Linked DNA regions of Homo sapiens: all the other regions are linked to region 4. The links are contacts of gene promoters, found by promoter capture Hi-C in blood cells and fetal thymus (Javierre and others, 2016). All regions are on one chromosome and are shown on one strand. The core of a region is centred on a gene start or on the middle of the fragment in contact, and the rest is flanking DNA. Distances in the headings are between cores, read along the strand shown.

What was found. The method cuts DNA at HindIII sites, captures the fragments that hold promoters and counts their contacts. A CHiCAGO score of 5 or more calls a contact.
Region 1: a contact is called between a fragment that was not itself captured here and the fragment with the promoter of PKDCC in region 4, in 1 of 17 cell types (naive CD8 T cells). The highest score is 5.4, in naive CD8 T cells.
Region 2: a fragment that was not itself captured here is called in contact with the fragment with the promoter of PKDCC in region 4 in 1 of 17 cell types (non-activated CD4 T cells); the score reaches 5.9 in non-activated CD4 T cells.
Region 3: a fragment that was not itself captured here is called in contact with the fragment with the promoter of PKDCC in region 4 in 1 of 17 cell types (total CD8 T cells); the score reaches 6.3 in total CD8 T cells.

The regions. Positions count from the first base shown.
Region 1 is chr2:42,369,240-42,372,494 of GRCh38, forward strand. No RefSeq gene overlaps it. Among named protein-coding and RNA genes, the nearest start is that of COX7A2L, 9.6 kb to the left of the region's middle. RefSeq lists an enhancer at 692-1,193. The HindIII fragment of the contact is 2,425 bases long and covers 575-2,999 here.
Region 2 is chr2:42,440,671-42,443,750 of GRCh38, forward strand. It overlaps KCNG3 (potassium voltage-gated channel modifier subfamily G member 3), which reads right to left. Exons shown (of 2, transcript NM_133329.6): 2 at 1,347-3,080. Among named protein-coding and RNA genes, the nearest start is that of KCNG3, 52 kb to the right of the region's middle. The HindIII fragment of the contact is 173 bases long and covers 1,418-1,590 here.
Region 3 is chr2:42,342,520-42,345,653 of GRCh38, forward strand. It overlaps a transcript of COX7A2L not described here. Among named protein-coding and RNA genes, the nearest start is that of COX7A2L, 17 kb to the right of the region's middle. The HindIII fragment of the contact is 379 bases long and covers 1,217-1,595 here.
Region 4 is chr2:42,046,725-42,049,948 of GRCh38, forward strand. PKDCC (protein kinase domain containing, cytoplasmic) reads left to right here and starts at 1,297. Exons shown (of 7, transcript NM_138370.3): 1 at 1,297-2,114. The coding sequence starts at 1,476. RefSeq lists enhancers at 1-177, 178-682, 306-425, 1,926-2,185, 2,899-3,224 and silencers at 596-885, 996-1,245, 1,396-1,575, 1,586-1,685, 1,816-1,885. The HindIII fragment of the contact is 13,255 bases long and covers 1-3,224 here.

The DNA.
Region 1 (3,255 bases), core at 537-3,036, 320 kb after region 4:
AAAAAAAAGTGTTCCATGGAACAGATCTAATAACTTAGCTCCCTAATAATTTTTCCTCTGCTTGCTTTAATTGCAAAGGATTCTTCCACAAACAGTGGAGTATTATTGCTTTTCAGTAGGCTAATGAGACTGCCTGTACACAGTGTTTTTCAGGCTTTACCCCCAACACGAAAAGGCACCAAGGAAACTTCCCCAGCAAGGACAGGGCTGGTCCTAGAGAAGACCTAGGAGACTCAGTGGGTGCCATGGGCCTTCAAATCATGCTTTCCCCAGGAGGGTCTTACAAGTCTCCACAAGAGGCACTTTGCCTTTTGTTCTGAAAGCCTGCCCAGCCAGCACTTAGTGTCCAGGACAAGGTCTTAACCACAGCAATCCAAACCAGGTTACCAGGCCTACTTTCTTCAGGCTCTGGGACTGCCAGGGGCTGTCCATCTCCAGCTAAGCACACTCTAGGAGCTGATCAAATTAGAGAGCTGGGGGAGGGGTGGTATAGACTCTTCTAAGAGAGCTGTAATGCTGTCAATCAACTAGCACTTAATTTCCGGTGGGTTGTAAAAGTGCCATGTATCCTGCAAGCTTCAGGGTGAGTAGCCCGGTAGGATTCTAAGTTAAATGATGCGAGAAGAATAACTCTTGGTGAGGATTTTGCACCTCAGAATTAAAAACAAAGCAAAAAAGACCAAACCTATATTGATTGCAAATATTGTGGGAAGGAATTTCTTTCCAATCTATTTCCATTAAATTCCCTTGATGACATCACATGTCACCTGAGTTGACAGCCACTGGAGGCCTGCAACTGTTCAGCACCCATCATGGGCACAAATGGAACTTTGCTACCATGCCCTTATGGGGCTGGGCCTCTGCAGGCTGCTCAGTTTTGACACTGTCGTGCCCGTAAGGGGATGGTCCCCAGGGAAAATGGATAGAGTCAGCTGAAAAGGTAATGGGGTGGATGGAACTGGGGCAGTTAGGAGGGGACAGCAGCAGTGGCCCTGGAACAGTGAGGCAGTTGGTGGAAGGAGGCCGGAGGCTGGTCTGCTGCCATCAGACATTTATACCATCTCCTGGCCTTGCAGAACTCTGATTCAGAAAATCATGGGGTGGCCGGGTACGGTGGCTCACGCCTGTAATCCCAGCACTTTGGGAGGCTGAGGCGGGTGGATCATGAGGTCAGGAGATAGAAACCATCCTGGCTAACACGGTGAAACCCCGTCTCTACTAAAAGTACAAAAAATTAGCTGGGTGTGGTGGCGGGCACCTGTAGTCCCAGCTACTCAGCAGGCTGAGGCAGGAGAATCATTTGAACCCAGGAGGCAGAGGTTGAAGTGAGCCGAGATCGCGCCACTGCGCTCCAGTCTGGGCAACAGAGCGAGACGCCATCTCAAAAAAAAAGAAAAAGAAAAAAAAGAAAATCATGGGGAACTTTTCATTTCTAAGAAAGGCCATGAAATAAAGAAACAACATCATGTAACCCTGTAGAAGGAGCATTGGTGTTAAATTCCTTACAGGATGCAAAAATGCTGTTCAATAAGTTTTACCAAAAATGCACAGTTAAATTCAACAATAAAAGTAGATGAGCAGTGCTGTCCAATAGAATGTTCTCTGATGATGGTCATGTTCTGTGCCTGTGCTGGCCGGTATGGTGGCCACCATCCACATGTGGCTACTGAGCCTTTGGAATGTGTCTAGTGCAACTGAAGAACTGAATTTTTAATTTAATTTTAACATAGCCACATACAGCTAGTGGCTATATTGGATAACACAGGTGTAAGGAGATTAAGGTGTGAAGGAGAAAGCCAGTGTAAGAGCAGCCTTCCTATTTGTCCAAGTCCCGAAAGAAGGAGATCCAGGCTGGGTGCAGTGACTCACGCCTGTAATCCCAGCACTTTGGGAGGCTGAGGCAGGAGGATTTCTTGAGCCCAGGAGTTTAAGACCAGCCTGGGCAACATAGCGAGACCGCGTCTCTGCAAAAACCTTAAAAAATTAGTCAAGTGTGGTGGCACGTACCTGTAGTCTCAGCTACTTGGGAGGCTGAAGTGAGAGGATTACTTGAGCCTGGGAGGCAGAAGTTGCAGTGAGCCAAGATTACACCACTGCACTCCAGCCTGGGGAACACAAGACCCTGTCTCAAAAAAAAAAAAAAATAAAATAAGGCCAAAAACAAAAAAAAAGAAGAAGAAGGAACTCCACCTTATTTGCTAATGAGTTCAGACTACAGGAGTAAAATAATTTCAATTTGTTTTGAAAAGTGCTTTATTTCCTGTCTAAATGTTGAACCATAATAGCTTCTCTTTTTTATAATTTCAGTGGGGAAAATACCATTATATGCTTCTGGAGATTAGAAGTACCATCCTCAGCATGTGCCCACCATTAATAGCTTCATCTTTTAGCCACATAGGGTTTTTGCCTCTGTAGGCTTCTAACATATTACGGTTTTTATAGCCAGAGGCATAGGCAAGTTCTTCTATTGCTAATGACAGGTCCGTTTCTCACCCTAATTTAGGCAACCACTCTATCCAACAGTTCACTGCATTTCAACATTTCTGATTTGTGACGTGGCGACTTATTCCTCTGAGAAATGTTTCGCATGCTGCTGCTTGTTCAGCAACCAGTTCATATTCGCAGATCTGAGCGCCATCCCTGGGCCTGGGTGAATCCCCTGAAGATAAAGTGGCCTCTGTCCTGAGACGGTGGGCACCAGGGAAGGAGCAGTACACAAGTCTTTCTGGCTGCCCACTCACAGCCCAATCTCCCAGCAAGCCCCGCGGAGCAGGCCCTGAAGCCCTGGTCTCACCCCTTGCAAGGGGCAAAGGTCAAGCCAAGGGGTCACAGGTAAGGGGAAGCAAAGTGTTTTTAAGCAGGGCACAGGTGGGCAGCAGCAGACCAAGCTCTGGGAAGAAGGGGAGGAAGAGGGAGATGAGACTTTTCAGGTTAAGAACAAACAAGGGAAAGATTCAGTAAGCAGGCAGCTGGGAGCCACATGTCTGGGCCAAACAACAAGCTTTTAAAAATCCATAAAGGGCAAGCACTGCATAACAGCGCTCTCTGATGTCAGAGTTCTGCCCTGGCCTTGTGAAAAGCACCAAGGACTCACCCTGCAGCAGCCAGTCCCTAAATAGTGGGGTGGGGGCTGGTATATCCCAGGCAGCTGGAGGGTGCACAGAGCAGATGCACCAGACCAGGCTCTGCAGGCCTGGACAGGCAGCTCAGCCAGGCCTGCTTCATTGATATAGGCTCCTAATGAGCAGGATAAAC
Region 2 (3,080 bases), core at 254-2,753, 390 kb after region 4:
GAAAGTATGAACTTACAAATGGGTACTTATAGGTAATGACCAAACCCAAGAACAAATGCAACTGTTTCAATTAGCAACAAGGACAATACAGTAATGAAAGCCTTGAATTGTTAGTTTGTTCACTTTCAAATATATTCCCTAATTTTGTGTTTGTAATCCTAAAACTCCCATTTTAGAGAATACAAAACAAGTTACATATTAGATCAAGTCATGTAAATTCAGGTGTGGTAAAATCAGATTAAAGATTAGGAGATTAGGGCTTTTTTCCTCTTTGGGTATTTTAATTTAGGATAATGTCTGACTTACTGGTACCAATACAGATATTAATGAAAACATTTCTGCCATGAAAAGACTGAGTTATAAGAGATGTCTGTAAGTATAGCTAAGAAAGAAGTGATACTTAATGGTTTTTTAAAAAAGCAGCAACAGGCCAGGCACAGTGTCTCATGCCCATAATCCCAGAGCTTTGAGAGGCTGAGGTGGGAGGACTGCTTGAGGCCAGGAGTTTGAGGCAAGCCTGGGCAACACAGTGAGACCCCTATCTCTACAAAAAAATAAAAATTAAAAAATTAACCAGCATGGTGATGCACACCTATAGTCCTAGCAACTTGGGAGGCTGGGGTGGGAGGACTGCTTGAGCCCAGGAGTTCAAAACTGCAGTGAGCTATGATCACACCACTGCACTCCAGCCTAGGCAACCAAGCAAAACTCTATCTCTAGAAAAAAATAAATAGATAAATAATGATAAAAGTAGCAACGCTCAGGGAACGTTACAATAAAATGCTGTTCCTAAAAAAACACAACATCCATGAAGACAAAACCCTAATACATATTTTTTCATTTATGAATGAACTACTCTATCACGTCTCATCGTCTCCTTATAAATGGGTAGCTTAACTGCCACTAGTATTTACCCAACATGCTTCTTTATGAAAATCGGTCCTATGGAAAGTCTGGAATCACCAACAAGAGATTTCACACTTGTTACCTAAGGGTAGCATGAAGTCTGTGTGTATATTTGCACATGTACATTATATATATATATACACACACACATATCCCTATATATAAAATATATACACATATATATACCTATATGTATGTATAAAATATATATATATAGGTGTGTGTGTATATATATACCTATAGGTATATGCTTCTCCTCGTCTCTTCACACAGAAGTTTCTCCCCTCAAATCAGTCAACTGTTTGTGCCCAAGTCTGTAACAGACACTGTCGGGGATACAAAGGTGTATGCATGAGAGAGGATCCCAGCTCTCAAGACAGTTATAATTTACTTGGGAAGATAGGACATATTCACATAAAGCGGTCCCAGTACCAGTAAAATTGATGGTTATCATATTTTTATTAGTAATATGGAGGTGCTATCATCTGCACATTGTTTGCATGAACCACAAAGCTTTAATCCAAATAGTTAAGAAAAAATAAATCCATGCCATTTATTTCAATTATATTAGAATACAATAAATATACAATAAATAACTGAATTTCTTTTGGGTATGTAAGAAGTAGCATACTAGCAGTAATAGGGAAAATAGGGCAAGATATTTAATGGCCAAACTATTACATAAGCTTAGGAAAGGAAATTAAGGGAAAGAAAACAGTTTTGCTATTATTACCTCAGCATGACAATGACAAAGAAGTGTGATTTTTCCAGGCTTTTCTCAGAACCCAGAGATGTGTGAAGATTAACCTGCTGGGCTAGGTTTCTGGAGATCCAGGTGTTAGCCCTGACTCCTTCACAATTATATTCTCTCCTGCCCTGATTTTCTACCTGTAATAGTTGAGGTTTGAACTAGATGATGGCTAAAATTCCTTTAATGAACACTTCTGGTAACCCTTTATTTGATAAATATATCCAGGTCCTCCATCACCCACCACTTCCCAATCCCTGTCTTCTCTACCTCTGACAAAATTACTGTGTACAACATTCAATTTTTTATGAATCTGTCACTAATTATTTGTGTTTATATATACACTAACTTCTTTATGGTAACTGGTTGAAAAAGCAAAATTCTAATTTCTGTTGCTAAAATTTAGTTACTAAACAATCATCACTTTTACATTATCTAGTCCTAATAATCTAGCCAGATTAACATGGCATATTAGTCAGTATTCTTACAAGAAGAGTTTTGGTGTAGCTGTGATTCACAATAGTTAAAGATCAGATCAAATCATTATGTATCCATCGCTTTTACTGGCTTAAAATTGACTTAGCTACACAGCAACTAAGAGTACAGTAATATTTAATTTCTCCCTTTTATGATAATCCAGTGACAACACGTAAGTATGACTTTGCTACTAAAAGGCTATATAAATATCCTTTCATCTGATAAGTCTTATTAAACCTCTAGTGTTTGGGGGAGGAGGTTAAGAGAAGAAGAGGTTGTAATATTGAGTCATCTCAAATTATTCCTATTATAATTTTTATGTTGGAAGTATTCTTGTTTGGACATCTAAATATTAGGACAGTTATCACCTAGGAACAGCAATGAATTCAAATATTATCCAGTAAGATGCTAAACAACACAAGCTCTCGTCAATTCTTAAATACCTTTTGAGTCATTACAGTAAAGAGATAAATCCAAAATGGAAAAGGGAGAACATACTCAAGCTTCCATGAAGCGGCACGATAAGGTGAATAATTGGCACAAAAATAAAGCAAAGAATTGAGAAGTATGCTGGAAAAGTCTTTCAAATACTATTCTTGCTTGTATCTAGCTCCATTATACAGTTTAAATTTTGGCCAAATTTTTAAAGTATTTGTTAAACAGTTCCCGCATGTGACATATGTTTCCAGGATACTTCTGACATTGATATGAGAAATTATAAAACATTTAGAAATGAAAATGTTACTCTCAAACAAAAAACACTATAAGTTCCAAGCTTCTTCTGAATTCATAAGATGGAAAAACATTTGGAAAATAGTACCTTTCTGTTTTAAAATGTTCAAATAATGTATTTTTTAAAAATGTGTAATCATTCAAGGAAACGGGAAAACAAGTCTAAATAAAACCGGGTCCTAAAGTTTACTCTAGGAGTCATTATTCTTCCTTTGCA
Region 3 (3,134 bases), core at 156-2,655, 300 kb after region 4:
TTCTCTGCCAAAGGGGAGGCAACGCCACCATTTCTCACAGCCTGGGGCAGCTTGGAATGTGATATTTGGAGTCAGCAAAGATTCCAATCTGGCTAATACACATTAGGCAGTGTAGAGACCTGTGCTTTGGCCCTGAGGCACAGCCATGTGACCATGACTAATCTATGTCATAGACGAGGTCAGAACAAGAGAAGGCAGGATGTCCCAGGAGGGCTGTGTCAGAACTCAAGGAAAAAAATATGACCTAAAGAATGCTCTTCCTGGCCATTCAGCGCCCCCCGTTTCGGGTTTTGCAGCAGACTTCCCCTGGGAAGTCAGCTCCAGCAGTCTTGGGACCCTGGGCAAGCAGCATCTGGGCCCCCCACCTGCCCATCCCAACACATCCTGCAGCAGTGCCGCACCCGGGCACCGTGGAGCCACAGAGGTCAGGAGGCCTGATTCCAGCTTATGCAAGTGACAGTGGCTGATGGCAGAGGAGACTGCAAGTGATCGTCCCACTCCCCTCCTACCTCAGGAGGTGCTGAGCCACCCTCACTGCTCTCGTTCACGTCATGAGAGCAAGAGTCAGCTGCTGCCGCCCTCCAGGCTACCAGGCCTGACCTGCTACCACCAAGGCATGACATGGGTTCCCAGAACAGCAGCCACAGCCAGATTTCCCTCCACCACACCCACCCGGGCAGCCTCCTCTAAAGTCACCAAACCCCGCCAGTCACAGAGAGCTCCCAGATCAGAACAGGTGAAGGATAACTGCAGAATTCCTCAATAACAAGGCCGTTTGCTAGCCATGTGGTCTATCAACCCTAAGAGGTGGAGAGACACCCTGAAAATGACCCTAAGCATGGTTCATCTCTGAGGCTCCAGCACCTAATAGTGTGTGCTTCTGCGCACTAATTAAATGTCTAGAATAACAGAGAATTAATGCAACTCCTTGAAGACTGTGGGTTAGGGAGTCCCTGAGGAGCCAAAGATACCGGCCAATGATCCCGACAAGAGGAGCTCTAGGGACAGGGCCCCATTTCTCAGCCAACCCGACATGGGCAGTCTGTGGTACTAAATAGTGACCCAGCCTAGGAGGTGTGGAGGCAAAACGTCAAATATATGTATTAAATCACTGGGACCAGGCAGTATCAGAATTTCTCAGCAACCAATTTTTATAGCCCCAGGTATAACCTCTAGCTATTGAAGATGAATGGGACAGAAAGTGAGAGGTTTACCAAGCTTTTGACCATGAGGAAAATCAGAAGGAAGACGTGGGGATGAACAGACCTCAATGTCAGACAAGCCAGGGGAGCCTGCCCAAAGCCACACACATGAAGAGAAGAAAAAAGCAGATAAATAAACGAAAGCTGGCCAGTGTTATCAAAGCCACACCAACCTTCACCTTACCCAACAGCTTCACAGCAAAGTCACACTGGATGAAGGGGCCGAGAAGGAGAGCGAAAGCTAGTCAGACCCTGAAAGGGAATCTGGCTGACAGAAAGAGCAAAGCCAGGGATAAGTGGGCACTGCTTTACAAGGACAAGTGTAAAGTAGCCATTTTCAACCTTTCTTACCCTTGTGTACCCTAAAAAAAAATTTACATCTATGCATATCTAAGCTTAATACGTAAAATTCTTCATTTTAAATTTAAATAGTTGCAAAAAGTATAGTTTCTATTGTTATAAATATTAGCTAAATTATTAAATCAGTTCTAAATGTATCCAACGGAATGTAACCTCCACTGCAGTTGGACACCCACCTTCATCTGGTTAAAAATACACATCTATACAACAGTCAGAAACCTCTGCTTACACGTGTTTTTCCATTCCACTCCCATACCTACAACTCTGTCCCAAAACATTTACCCTACTACAACTTTAGGAATGAAAGTCTCCTTTTGCTCATACATAATTCTCTGTAACACTCTAAAATTGAAATTTGTTTAAATTTCCTGTGACCATAAACTCTAAGTGTTAGAAATACTTTTGTTCTAGATTGAATTATTACAATTACTATTAGTACATATTTGACCAAAACAAAGTATGAGAAAATCTGTCTTAGAATGCGTCGCAGGCCCGGCGCGGTGGCTCACGCCTGTAGTCCCAGCAGTTTGGGAGGCTGAGGTGGGCAGATCCCGAGGTCAGGAGATGGAGACCATCCTGGCTAAGGCAATGAAACCCCATCTCTACTAAAAATACGAAAAATTAGCCCACGTTGTGGCAAGCGCCTGTAGTCCTAGCTACTCAGGAGCCTGAGGCAGGAGAATGGCGTGAACCCAGGAGGCGGAGCTTGCAGTGAGCTGAGATTGCGCCACTGTACTCCAGCCTGGGTGACAAAGCAAGACTCCGCCTCAAAAAAAAAAAAAGGCATCGCAATTAGAGGGAGGGAGCTGGTTCCGGTTTCCATGGATAAATCTTGCTTACTGTTAAAATAAGGTAATTTCAGCATCAATTCCATTCCCATTTTTATTTTTACAGATATAAGCACTGAAAAACCTTGTTTTCATAAACAGAAGGGAATGAAGTTTCGTGATAGCAAAATCACAATTCTTTGAACTCCTGAGTTATAAGTCATGTGTGATCTATTATCAAAATTATTTTTAGGCCAGGTATGGTGGCTCACACCTGTAATCCCAGCACTTTGGGAGGCTGAGGCGGGCAGATCACCTGAGGTCAGGAGTTCGAGACCAGCCTGACCAACATGGAGAAACCCTGTCTCTACTAAAAATACAAAAATTAGCCAGGTCTGGTGGCACACACCTGTAATCCCAGCTACTCAGGAGGCTGAGGCAGGATAATCACTTGAACCCGGGAGGCGGAGGTTGCAGTGAGCCGAGAATGTACCATTGCACTCCAGCCTGGGTGACAAAAGCAAAGCTCTGTCTCAAAACAAAAACAAAAACAAAATTATTTTTAATGATCAAGTGACAACTTAGCTGGCTCCTCCTTCAATTTTGTTAAAAACCTCTAAATTGCAAAAAAAAAAACTGTCAGTCATTAGAGACACACACTTCCTCAATGTTACCAATATTTGCACATATTCCTACATTGCCCCAGGGATGGTTTTCACTCTCCAGGGCAACACCCCTTGGTGGGACAAGAATGGCTGAGGGTCTGCCTTCCTTTCAGAGTGAAAGACCATCATACAGGACCCCC
Region 4 (3,224 bases), core at 47-2,546:
CCTTCTCCTCCCTGACCCCTCCCCAGCCAATCCCTGACACTGTGAGGAGGACAGAGATTAACCTGGCCCAGAGGGAGGCAGGAAGCTGCCCAGGAAGGTGAGAGGATCTAGGTGGGCAGTTTCAGAGTGGCGGGGAAGAGGAGAGCTGCGAGGGGGAGGGGCAGCGGCTTATCTCTCCCAGGAGGGGGGAGCTCACTCCAAACAGCTAGTGCACTGGCGTGTGAAAGCCCCTCAATTAGCACTAATGATGCAATCAGGGAGGGAGGAGGAGGGACCGAAGTTCTGGTGGCGTCAGCACCAACTTACACACAAGGTACACATTCCCTTCATCGGACACAATGGCCCCTTCAGACACGCCGAGGCACACACTCCACAGACAGCCGTCCGTGGGCACAAACGCACTCTTTGCCCAAGCTACTAGCATGCACATGGTTTCTTATACGCGGCTGACCCCGTCAGACCCCAGGCATCTTGAGGGGTAGGGAGCGACCCCCAGCTGCATTTGGGGCTTTAGAGGCAAGGAAAATCAGAAACACTTTGGTAAAAGGAGTTGAACAGGGCATCCTCGGCGAGCTCACGAGCATTCCTCTATGCCTAGAGCTCCTGTCCCACGCGCGCTCGCAGGTGCTGGCCCGGCTGTGCCCGCTTCCCCCTCACCATCGCCCCAATCCGGAATCCGGGGCTGAGCGAGGAGCCGCCACCCCCGGCCCCACCCGCGAGAGACGGGGTCCACGCGCCTTCCCTGCGCCCAAACCGCCCCGAGGCCCCCAGTCCCAGGAGGGAGCGCTGAGATCACTCGGATCTCCGCACCCCGGACTTAGCTGCTCGTCCCCTCCGGAGCCCGCTACCCGCCGGCCTCGCCCCTTTATCTTTCCCCCACTCCGCCCGGCCGGCTCCGTTATCCACCTCCCAATCCCGTTATCCGGCCGCCCCGGCCCCGTTATCCGCCCTCGCGTTGGGCGCGGAGCCCCCGCGCGCCTCCTGGCCGCCGCCGCCCCCTCCCCCGCTCCCAGACGGAGCTCGGGGGACCGCGGGCTGGGCGGGACCGCGGGCTGGGCAGGACCGGAGCCGCCTCCGCGCCGCTTCCCAGGCCCGGACGGCCGCGGGAGGAGGTCCCGCTGTCAGTCAGCGGGGAAGGCCGGGCCGGGCGGCCGGAGGGGGCGGCGCCGAGGACGGGCTCGGGCCGGGAGCTGGGAGGTGGAGGCGGAGGGGCGGGGGAGGGGGCGGGGGAGGGGGCGGGGGCGGGGGCGGGGGGCGGCTCTGGGCCTTATAAGCGGCGGGGGCAGGGCGGCAGGGAGGCAAGTGTCAGGCCGATGTGTCGCCCGCGAGGGGCCGGGGTCGGGGCCGCCGGGGCCATGCGCGCGGGCTGGGCAGGGGGCCGGCGGGGCGCAGAGCGGAGCCGCCTCGGAGCCTGAGCCGCCCGGGGCCGGGGCCGGGGAGCCGCGCGGGGCCGGCCGGCCGGGGGGAGGGGAGCGATGCGGCGCCGGCGGGCGGCAGTGGCCGCGGGTTTCTGCGCCTCCTTCCTGCTGGGCTCCGTCCTCAACGTGCTCTTCGCTCCGGGCTCGGAGCCTCCGAGGCCAGGCCAGTCCCCTGAGCCTTCGCCGGCCCCGGGTCCGGGCCGTCGCGGGGGCCGCGGGGAGCTGGCCCGGCAGATCCGGGCGCGCTACGAGGAGGTGCAGCGCTATTCCCGCGGGGGCCCCGGGCCCGGGGCGGGCCGGCCGGAGCGGCGGCGCCTGATGGACCTGGCTCCGGGCGGGCCCGGCCTGCCGCGCCCCCGGCCCCCTTGGGCCCGGCCCCTGTCCGACGGCGCCCCAGGCTGGCCCCCGGCTCCCGGCCCAGGCTCCCCCGGCCCGGGCCCGCGCCTGGGCTGCGCCGCGCTTCGCAACGTGTCCGGCGCGCAGTACATGGGCTCAGGCTACACCAAGGCCGTGTACCGGGTCCGCCTGCCCGGCGGTGCCGCGGTGGCGCTCAAGGCGGTGGACTTTAGCGGCCACGATCTGGGCAGCTGCGTGCGCGAGTTCGGGGTACGGAGGGGCTGCTATCGGCTGGCGGCCCACAAGCTGCTTAAGGAGATGGTGCTGCTGGAGCGGCTGCGGCACCCCAACGTGCTGCAGGTACGAGGGTGGGGACGCGGGGGTAACGGTGTTGGCTGGGAGTGCCCAAGACCTTGTCAACCTGGCTGGAAGAGAACCCCTTGATCTGGAGTGCCAGTGACTGCACCCAGGCTAAGCTAGACGCAGAAACCGGACCATGGCCCTTCCCACTGCACCACCCTGCTTCTCACTCCTGGGTGGGCGTCCCTTTACCGGAGAACTCCTGGGTTTCTCGGCTTCCACACATCTCTTAAAGACAGGCCAGGACAGAGGCTCCCAAAACTCAGGGGGTGGGGCAGTCCATTAGGATTTAGGACTCTACTCCGGGCTGGAGTTAGGAGGTTGAACACCAGGGATATTACCCCAAGCCAAAATGACCCTAAGCCAAGACACTTGAGTCAGAATTCCAACTGTGTGATAAAGTCCCCCTTCTTGATGGAACTTCTCCCAACTTCCAGTGATTTGTCTGGTTTTGAAAATGAGACGGGACAGCAGTGGGGCTGGGAAGAGCTGGAAAGAGACCATGTGTCAGGCTTGATTCCTATAGAGTCTCCCCACCCACCCACCTCCAGCGCCACCCAGAAGACACTGGAAGGGGGCTGGGGAGCAGGCTAGAAAAAGGGAACACAGTCCTTCCCAGAAGTGAACTAAGGGTTCCCCAGGCCTTAAAGTGGGTCCTTGAGCCCCTGGAGAAGCCTGAAGGTCTCAGCTCAGTGGACAGACTGGCGGCCTGAGGATCTAAATGTCACACTGTCTGAGTGTATATAGATAGCCAAGAGGCTGGAAGGTTGAGAAGGCCAAATGCTCAGGTTCCTACTCAACGGGACTCTGCCTCGCCTGTTCACTGGAGACACAGGCGAGAGCTGAAACCCCCACCTTGTCCCCTCCAAGCTAGACTTTGAGTGGGCCTCTCACAGTCCCAGCACCGCCCTAACACTCCACGTCCTCTCTCTCAGGTCTCCCCCCATCCTAAGATTAGACAGACTATTCCCTTTGCACATGTCTGAGCAAACAGAGGGGAATCCCTGACCGCTGTTGGCCCGGTGAACATGGGTGTGTGCAGCCTCCCCAACGGATGAAATCTTGCACACACCTTCCACCTACCAGCCCACTCAAACTAACCTTTCTGCA